Regions from separate parts of the Homo sapiens genome. Here all the other regions are linked to region 2. Evidence: promoter capture Hi-C in human tissues and cell types (Jung and others, 2019). All regions are on one chromosome and are shown on one strand. Each heading gives the region's core, a stretch centred on a gene start or on the middle of the fragment in contact. The rest is flanking DNA. Distances are from core to core; before and after follow the strand shown. Region 1 overlaps SIAH3 (siah E3 ubiquitin protein ligase family member 3). Region 2 holds the start of SIAH3 (siah E3 ubiquitin protein ligase family member 3). Region 3 has its middle 34 kb from the start of SIAH3.

Region 1 (2,700 bases), core at 188-2,687, 46 kb before region 2:
TACAATTATACACTGAAAACACATTGATTCCTAAAAAGTAAACTGTGGCTGGAACTTTTACAAAAATAATTATTTTACATATATTTTTTCTTCCCCAATTAAAAACTTTTAATTTAAAAGTTAACTTTAATGTCAAAAATGCAAGCTTGGGGAGGGCATACATATTATATTTTTAAAAATAAAAGCTATATATTATTTAGGCAAGTTTGTTATTACTATTAATTCTATTAATGTGTTTAATATTAATATATTGTTATTACTACATGCTACAACATAGATAAACCTTGAAAACATTATGTTAAGTCAAAGAAGCCAGTGGCGAAAGATCACATATTATATAATTCTATTTACATGAACTGTCCAGAATAGGCAAATGCACAGATACAGAAAAAAGATGGGTTGCCAAGGGTTGGAGGGAGGGTAGAGTGGAGTGGTTGCTAACAAATATGGGATTTCTTTTGGGGTGTTGAAAACATTCTAAAATTAGATAGCGGTAATGGTTGTGCAACTCCGTGAATATACTAAAATCAATTGAATTATACACTTTAAAAGGTATGTGATAACTCAAAATATTAAAAGCCATCTATGACAAACCCACAGCCAACATTATACTAAAGGGGCAAAAGCTGGAAGCATTCTCCTTAAGAACTGAAACACGACAAGGATGGCCACTCTCACTATTCCTATTCAACGTAGTATTGGAAGTCCAAGCCAGAGCAATCAGGCAAGAGAAGGAAATAAAAGGTATCCAAACAGGAAAATAAGTAGTCCAAGTATCTCCCTTCATTGATGACATGATTCTATACCTAGAAAACCCTAAAGGCTCCACCAAAAGGATCCTAGAGATGATAAACGACTTCAGTAAAATTTTAGGATACAAAATCAATGTACAAAAATTGGTAGCATTTTATACACCAATAATGTTCAAGCTGAGTCAAATCAAGAACTCAATCCCATTTATAACACACACACACACACACACACACACACACACACACACACACACACAAAATACTTTGGAATACATCTAACCAAGTAAGTGAAAGATCTCTACAAGGAGAACTACAAAACACTGCTGAAAGAAATCATAGATGATACAAGCAAATGAAAAAGCTTCCTATGCCCAATATTGTCAAAATGGCCATACTGCCCAAAGCCATCTACAGATTCAATGCTATTCCTATCAAACTATCAACATTACCGTTCACAGAATTAGAAAAAAACTATTCTAAAATTTATATGGAACCAAAAAAGAGTGCGAATAGCCAAAGCAATATGAAGCAAAAAGAAGAAAGTTGGAGGCATCACACTACCTGACTTCAAACTATACTACAAAGCTACAGTAACCAAAACAGCACGATACTGGTATAAAAACAGACCATAGACCAATGGAACAGGATAGAGAACCCAAAAATAAAGCTGCACAATTACAATAATCTGATCTTTGATAAAGTTGACAATAACAAGCAATGGGAAAAGGACTCCCTATTCAATAAATTGTGCTGGGATAATTAGCCAGCTATATGCAGAAGAATGAAAATGGACCTCTACCTTTCGCCATATATAAAAATTAACTCAAGATGGATTAAAAACTGAAATGTAAGACCTCAAACTATAAAAATCTTAGAAGAAAACTAGGATATACCATTCTGGACAGTGGCCTTGGCAAAGAATTTATAACTAAGTCCCTAAAAGCAATTGCAACAAAGACAGAAATTGACAAGTAGGACCTAATTAAACTAAAGAGCTTCTGCACAGCAAAAGAAACTATTAACAGGCTAAACAGACAATTTATAGAATGGTAGAAAATATTTGCAAACTATGCATCTGACAACAGTCTAATGTCCAGAATCTATAAGAAACCTAATTCAACAAGCAAAACCAAATAACCCCATTAAAAATGGGCAAAGGACATGACAGACACTTCTCAAAAGAAGACATACATGTGACATACAAATATATGAAATAATCCTCAACATCATTAATCATCAGAGAAATGCAAATCAAAACCACAATGAGATGCCATTTTGTCCCCATCAGAATGGCTATTAAAAAGACAAAAAATAACATGTTGATGAGGTTGTGAAGAAAAGGGAACATTTATATACTGTTGGTGGAAATGTAAATTAGTTCAGCCACTGTGGAAAGCAGTTTGGAGATTTCTCAAATAATTTAAAACAGAACTACCATTTGACCCAGCAATTCCATTATGGAGTATATATGCAAAGGAAAAGACATTGTTCTACCAAAAAGATAAACACACTCATATTTTCATCACAGCACTCCTCACAATAGCAAAGACATGGAATCAACCCAGGTCCCCATCAATGGTGGACTGGATAAAGAAAATGTGGTACATATACACCATGGAATACTACACAGCCATAAAAGTGAATCGAATTATATCCTTTGCAGCAACATGGATGGAGCTAGAGGCCATGATATTAAGCGAAGTAATGCAGGAACAGAAAACCAAATACCACATGTTCTCACTTACAACAGGGAGCTAAACATTGAGTACACACGCATATAAAGATGGCACCAATAGACATTGGGGACTATGAGAGTGGGGAGGGTGGAAGGAAGACAATGGTTGAAAAAGTATCTATTGCGTGCTATGCTCACTACCTGGATGACAGGATTATTCATATACCAAGCCTTAGTGACACGTCATTTACCCATGTAACAAACCTGCACATT
Region 2 (2,700 bases), core at 36-2,535:
TGCCTTACACAGGAGTACAGGAAAGGAACTTCCAATGAGTCCATCTTTTATGTTAGGAGAGAGGCAAGGTGCTGAGTTTCCCATCCGGGGAGTTCAGCTGCACCCTCTCCCCAGCCCCCACCTCCCTGACTTCCCCTCCTCCCTACTACCCCTAACCAGTGGCCCATCATTCCTTTCCCAGTCAGTCTTGGCTGTGATGTTAAGCGGCTCTGCCGGACCCCATATTTTGTCTGGTCTCTAAAAGGGCACTGACCTGAGGGTACAAATGCAGAGGCCCCGGGGCAGCTAGGCAGCCGCGAGCAACCCAGCACCCAGCTGCCTAGGGTGCTCCAGGCAGCGGCGGCAGCAGCTAGAAGCTGGTGTCATTATTACACAAGCCAGGCAAATCCTGCTCCAGTACACAGAGCGCATCTAACCAGCAGGAAGGAAATAAGCCAAAATCCTCCCGACACCACACACACACACACACACACACACACACACACACACACACACACGAGTCTGAGGACAAGGACAAACACTTTGCAGAAAGAACCCTCCCCCCACCCCACCGACGTCCAAGTCCCTGTTTCAGGATTCCTCACCCCCCAGTAGCTTCTAAAATCCTCGTGTTTGACCACCTCTCCCAACACATGGGACAGAGAGAATTTGGCTAACTTCAAATCCTGTCTCCTGAGCACTTGCCCACAAATAGTAGGGGGAGTGATGGGGACGCCCCCCTGTTCCCTCCACCACCCTCACTTCTGCCCCCCACGCCACTCTCAGGTTGACAGCGTCGGGGAAAGACATCAGACCATCAATCCAGCTTTTCCTGCCAGCTGGGGAAACAACACTCGGTCACTAACAGCACCCAATCACCTAGAGAGCGAGAGTGAGCCGAGGCAAACACGCCGGGTTCCAGACACCGTCCCAGCCCCCGAGACCCGGGTTTGCAAAGGGCTGCACACGTTCGCCGGAGGGTCGCTGCCGCCTCCGAGAAAGGACTTGAACCTGAGCCCGGTGAAGGTAAAATGACACAGAGACTCACCTTTAGGTTGTGTGTGGGGTTGACGACACAGACAAGTTGCCCGGCAGCGGAGAAAACCCGTTTAGCCTTGTAGTGCTGAAACCGGAGATGAATGAGATCTAATACAGCCCCAAAGCACTGGGTAAAGAAAAGCATCACAACTTTTGGGGGGTTGTTGGTCCGGGAAGGCAGCGGAGGAAGCTGTGAGTCCTTGGGCCCTGGAAGGAGCGCAGCCTCTGAGACACTCCGCTCCAGCCCGGCTTAGCGCGCCTTCATATTCATCATCAAAATAAGACGGTTAGAATCTTGCAGCAGTGAGGCGGCCAATCAAAAGGACAGAAATGTTATCCTTGAGGTGCAGAGACAGCCAATAACAAATGCCTTCCCTACCGAAACTCCCTGATGAATTGAGCCTGGCGGAGAATGTATTATTGAACATTACCATAGATCAGCACATTGCATTTATCTTGTGATTACAGCCAACCATACCTAATGCTGGGGAGATAGGCTGACAAAATTGATTGCTTAATGTGTCTCCATTTATTAATTGACTTAATTTAACATGAGAGCCTTTCTTAATGCCCTGGCAAGAACGTAAAGCGTTTAAGCCGCCAAATAGTACAACACCCCGCTCCAAAGTAGGCAGATGGATAACGCAGATCATGGCTCGACTCACCAGAGCTGCTTGGGAGAAAATAAAATATTACTAGACTCTGAATCCAGATAAGGACTTGGCAGCAGCAAAAATGTGTATCTTTCAATCTTGCGTTCTGACTTTCTGCAATTTGGATTACAGCCCCTTGATAAATCTTACTCTCCACTCTTTATCAAAGAAAAGAATCCCTGACAAATTCATTTGGAGTTGAGGGGTGGAGGGAAGCACATACATATATATTACTATACATATATATATATTTTCTTTTTTTCAAAATACTGTGATTACTGAAGTCTGAAAGTATTAAAGGATAAAAATGCACAGAGTATGCTTCAAAAAATAATGAAATCCCTGATGCATGAATGCACACACACAGAAAAACCTACACTGAGAGGAAAGAGGCTTGTAAATCAGCAAAATAATTACAGATGCAGAGAACCTTTGCTTGTCATTCATTTGCATATTGGTGGGCAGCAAATTGCTAATTAACCACTAGATTGCTGGAGACATTAAAATAGAGATTAAGGATGCACATACCACATCATTTACTTGTTTCTGCAAATGCTAGCAGCACATTTCTGTGCTGGCACAGGCAGAGGGCATTCCAGTCCTCAGACTGCAAACCTGTCCTTGCTCCCCAGAACAGGGCTGGTGGGTGGGCGGGAGGCCGCTGGTTCTTGAAGAAAGATTCCTAAGCAGTACTTGAAGGGTTTTGGGTTTTTCGGGACTAGCTCTGATGGTTTAGTCTTTGCAGCTAAAGCAGGGGAGTTCAGTGTATTGTGTTTTCCCTCTTCCCTGGTTGTTTCTCTCTTGAGAAGTCAGGCCAGATCCAGTGCTGCCTGGAGCAGGATCAGCCCCCACTGTGAATTGTACCCTGTGAGTGTGAGCCCCCTCCCTCATGGCTCTTGTTCTGCTCTGGCTACAATGCTTGGGTTGTAATGTATGCAAAACATATGCACACGTGGAACACCTAGGTCTGTGACCTGGTCAGGCAGTTAAACTAACAACAGAATAACATACGGGATAAAAATAATGCACA
Region 3 (2,700 bases), core at 10-2,509, 34 kb after region 2:
GCATCACAAATAATTTAAAATTAATAATTGCGTTATCTGCAGTTTAAAATAACCTTGTCCCTATGTCATATCTTTCCATCTTCACTGAGTTTGATTTTCAGTCCTATGCCTTCCTCTCCTCAGTCCATGCCCATCCAGGTAAATTTCTATTCTGTCTTCAAGACCAAATTGTATCTCACCATTGACCATGAGCTCCACCCAGTCATCCATACTACAGATCCTTGTACATAGTAATTACTCTATAAGTGTTTGATGAATGAGTGAATAAGTGAATCAATGTAGGATCACTGATTGTTTCAAGCTCTCCATCCCACACAACTTTAGAGCAGGACTCTAACAACATTACTGTGCAATTCATTATACTTCAAAATGTGTCATAAACTAGGATATACTTTATATTCACATGAATACCTTGAAAATACTTACTAACAATTTGTTCAGGTGTCACTGAAAAGGCCATTACATGACTGATTTTTCTTCCTACAATGCGATTTGCTTTGATTTGCCACCGCGTGGCTCTTTCCTCAGGGTCTGTCAGTATTCCGTTCACAGCTTCTTCTCTTTGACTCCAGGTCTGCTTGCTGCCTTTCCTCCAAAGAGGAAAGCCTGTCACCTGTCATCTCTCAGTAGGCTGGAATCTTGGTGATTCTAGAGCCCAGCATGCAGCAGCCCTGCTCTGCGTGCTGCAATTCTAATGCTCCCTTATGCAGAAGTGGGGATGATGTGAAGCTCTTTTCCAATATCATAATTCTTGTTTGGATTCTAATCCACACAAGATTAACCTTTTCTGGATTTCTGCAGGAGCTGAGGAACATCTAAAACACAAGCCATTTGTCTTTAAATTATCCAATTTTATGATCATAAATTCACCTATGATTCTATGAAATGCAATGCTACTACCAGAACCAATTCTAGAAGAAACATCATTCTTGGTTTCTCCTTCATTATTATTGCCTATATTATCAACACTGTCAACACCAATAACATTTGTCAAGCACCAAAACAGTGTGAGCTGTTTTCCTTGGGGCTAGAGGAGAAGAGGCAACATCACCTTTTAAACTTGGAGCTTAAAATCTATTGCACTGGCATTTTTTACAGGCATTTTTTGAGCATCCACCCAACTATTTAATAAATAGTGATTGCAGGCCTACTGCCGTAAGACTGCAATGGTGAACAAGACCCAGCTCCCCATGAATGTCCATAATGACAGTATTCATCATAGCCAAAAGCTGGAAACAATCCAAGTGGCCATCAGCAAATGAATCATTAAACAAAATGTGGTGTGTGCGCGTGCACACACACACACAAACACACACACACACACACCAGAATATTACTCAGCTATAAAAAAGGATGATGTCCTGATACACATTACAACGTGAATGAAGCTTGAAAACATATGCTAAATGAAGGAAGTCAATCACAAAAGATCACTATCTTAGTCTGTTTTGTGTTGCTATAACATAATACCTGAGACTGGGTAATTCATAAAGAAAAGAGGTTTAGACTGGGCACCTGTAATCCCAGCACTCTGGGTGGATCACTTGAGGCCAAGAGTTCAAGACCAACCTAGCCCACATGGCAAAACCCCATTGCTACTAACAAATACAAAAATTAGCCAGGCGTGGTGGCATGCACCTGTAATCTCAGCTACTCGGGAGGCTGAGGCAGGAGAATCACTTGAACCCAGGAGGAGGAGGTTGCCGTGAGCTGAGATCACGCCACTGTACTCCAGCCTGGGTGATGGAGTGAGACTCTCTCAAAAAAAAAAAAAAAAAAAAGAGAGAGAAAAAAGGTTTCATTTAGCTCATGGTTCTGCAAACTGGGAAGTTCCAGGCATGGTGCTGGCATCTGCTGAGGGCTTCTGTGCTGTCATAACGTGGTGGAGAAGGTTAAAGGGAAGCAGACACATGCAAAGAGGCACAAAATGGGAGGAGGAATCTCACTTTATAACAATCCACTCTTGCAGGACGAATTCATTCCCAGAGAATAAAACCAGTCTCTTGAGAATGAGAACTAAGTACTGCGCGAGAATGGCACCAAGCCATTCCTGAGGGATCCACCCCCATGACCCAAACACCTCCCACTAGGCCCTACTTCCCAACACTGTCACATTGGGGATCAAATTTCAACATAAGTTTTGGTGGAAACAAACCATATCCAAACCAAAGCAGTCACATATTAAAGATTCCCCTTATATCCAAAATAGGTAAATCTGTAGAGACAGAACACAGGGGCTGGGAGGAGGGCAGTATAGATAATGACTGCTTAATAGGTATGGAATTTCTTCTTGGCGCAATGAAAATGTTTTGGAGCTGGCTAGAGGTGGTGGTTGCACAGCAGTGTGAAGGTACTAAGTGCCACTGAATTGTGCAATTTAAAACGGTTAATTTTATGTTGTGTGAATTTCACCAAAATAAACATAAATTTTTTAAGATCTAATTTTTATTCCTCATAGTGCATTATTTTCAGTTTAATGTCTAGAGTTGTATGGGCATTCAAAGAATCTATAATGTAATGGAGGAGACAGACAACAATCTAGAAATGGAGGCAATAATTTCAATATCATTGAGAGCTTTAAAGCAGAAAAGTACATGAAAACTATTCATGGATAAAAGCTGGACGAGGAATAATAGAGAATTTAGGCACCGTGGTGTTCATGCCTCATGGCCTTAGCCCCTTGATTAACAGAGGGTTTTC

The links. The method cuts DNA at HindIII sites, captures the fragments that hold promoters and counts their contacts. A contact is called where the count stands out against the background at its distance.
Region 1: a contact is called between a fragment that was not itself captured here and the fragment with the promoter of SIAH3 in region 2, in 1 of the 25 tissues and cell types used here (hippocampus).
Region 3: a fragment that was not itself captured here is called in contact with the fragment with the promoter of SIAH3 in region 2 in 2 of the 25 tissues and cell types used here (bladder and neural progenitor cells).

Annotation. Positions count from the first base shown.
Region 1 is chr13:45,804,002-45,806,701 of GRCh38, forward strand. The region is part of intron 1 of SIAH3 (siah E3 ubiquitin protein ligase family member 3); the gene reads right to left. Among named protein-coding and RNA genes, the nearest start is that of SIAH3, 46 kb to the right of the region's middle. The HindIII fragment of the contact is 4,222 bases long and covers 1-2,700 here.
Region 2 is chr13:45,850,468-45,853,167 of GRCh38, forward strand. It overlaps SIAH3 (siah E3 ubiquitin protein ligase family member 3), which reads right to left and starts at 1,286. Exons shown (of 2, transcript NM_198849.3): 1 at 1,028-1,286. The coding sequence starts at 1,162. RefSeq lists an enhancer at 1-395. The HindIII fragment of the contact is 6,525 bases long and covers 1-2,700 here.
Region 3 is chr13:45,884,813-45,887,512 of GRCh38, forward strand. No RefSeq gene overlaps it. Among named protein-coding and RNA genes, the nearest start is that of SIAH3, 34 kb to the left of the region's middle. The HindIII fragment of the contact is 4,275 bases long and covers 1-2,700 here.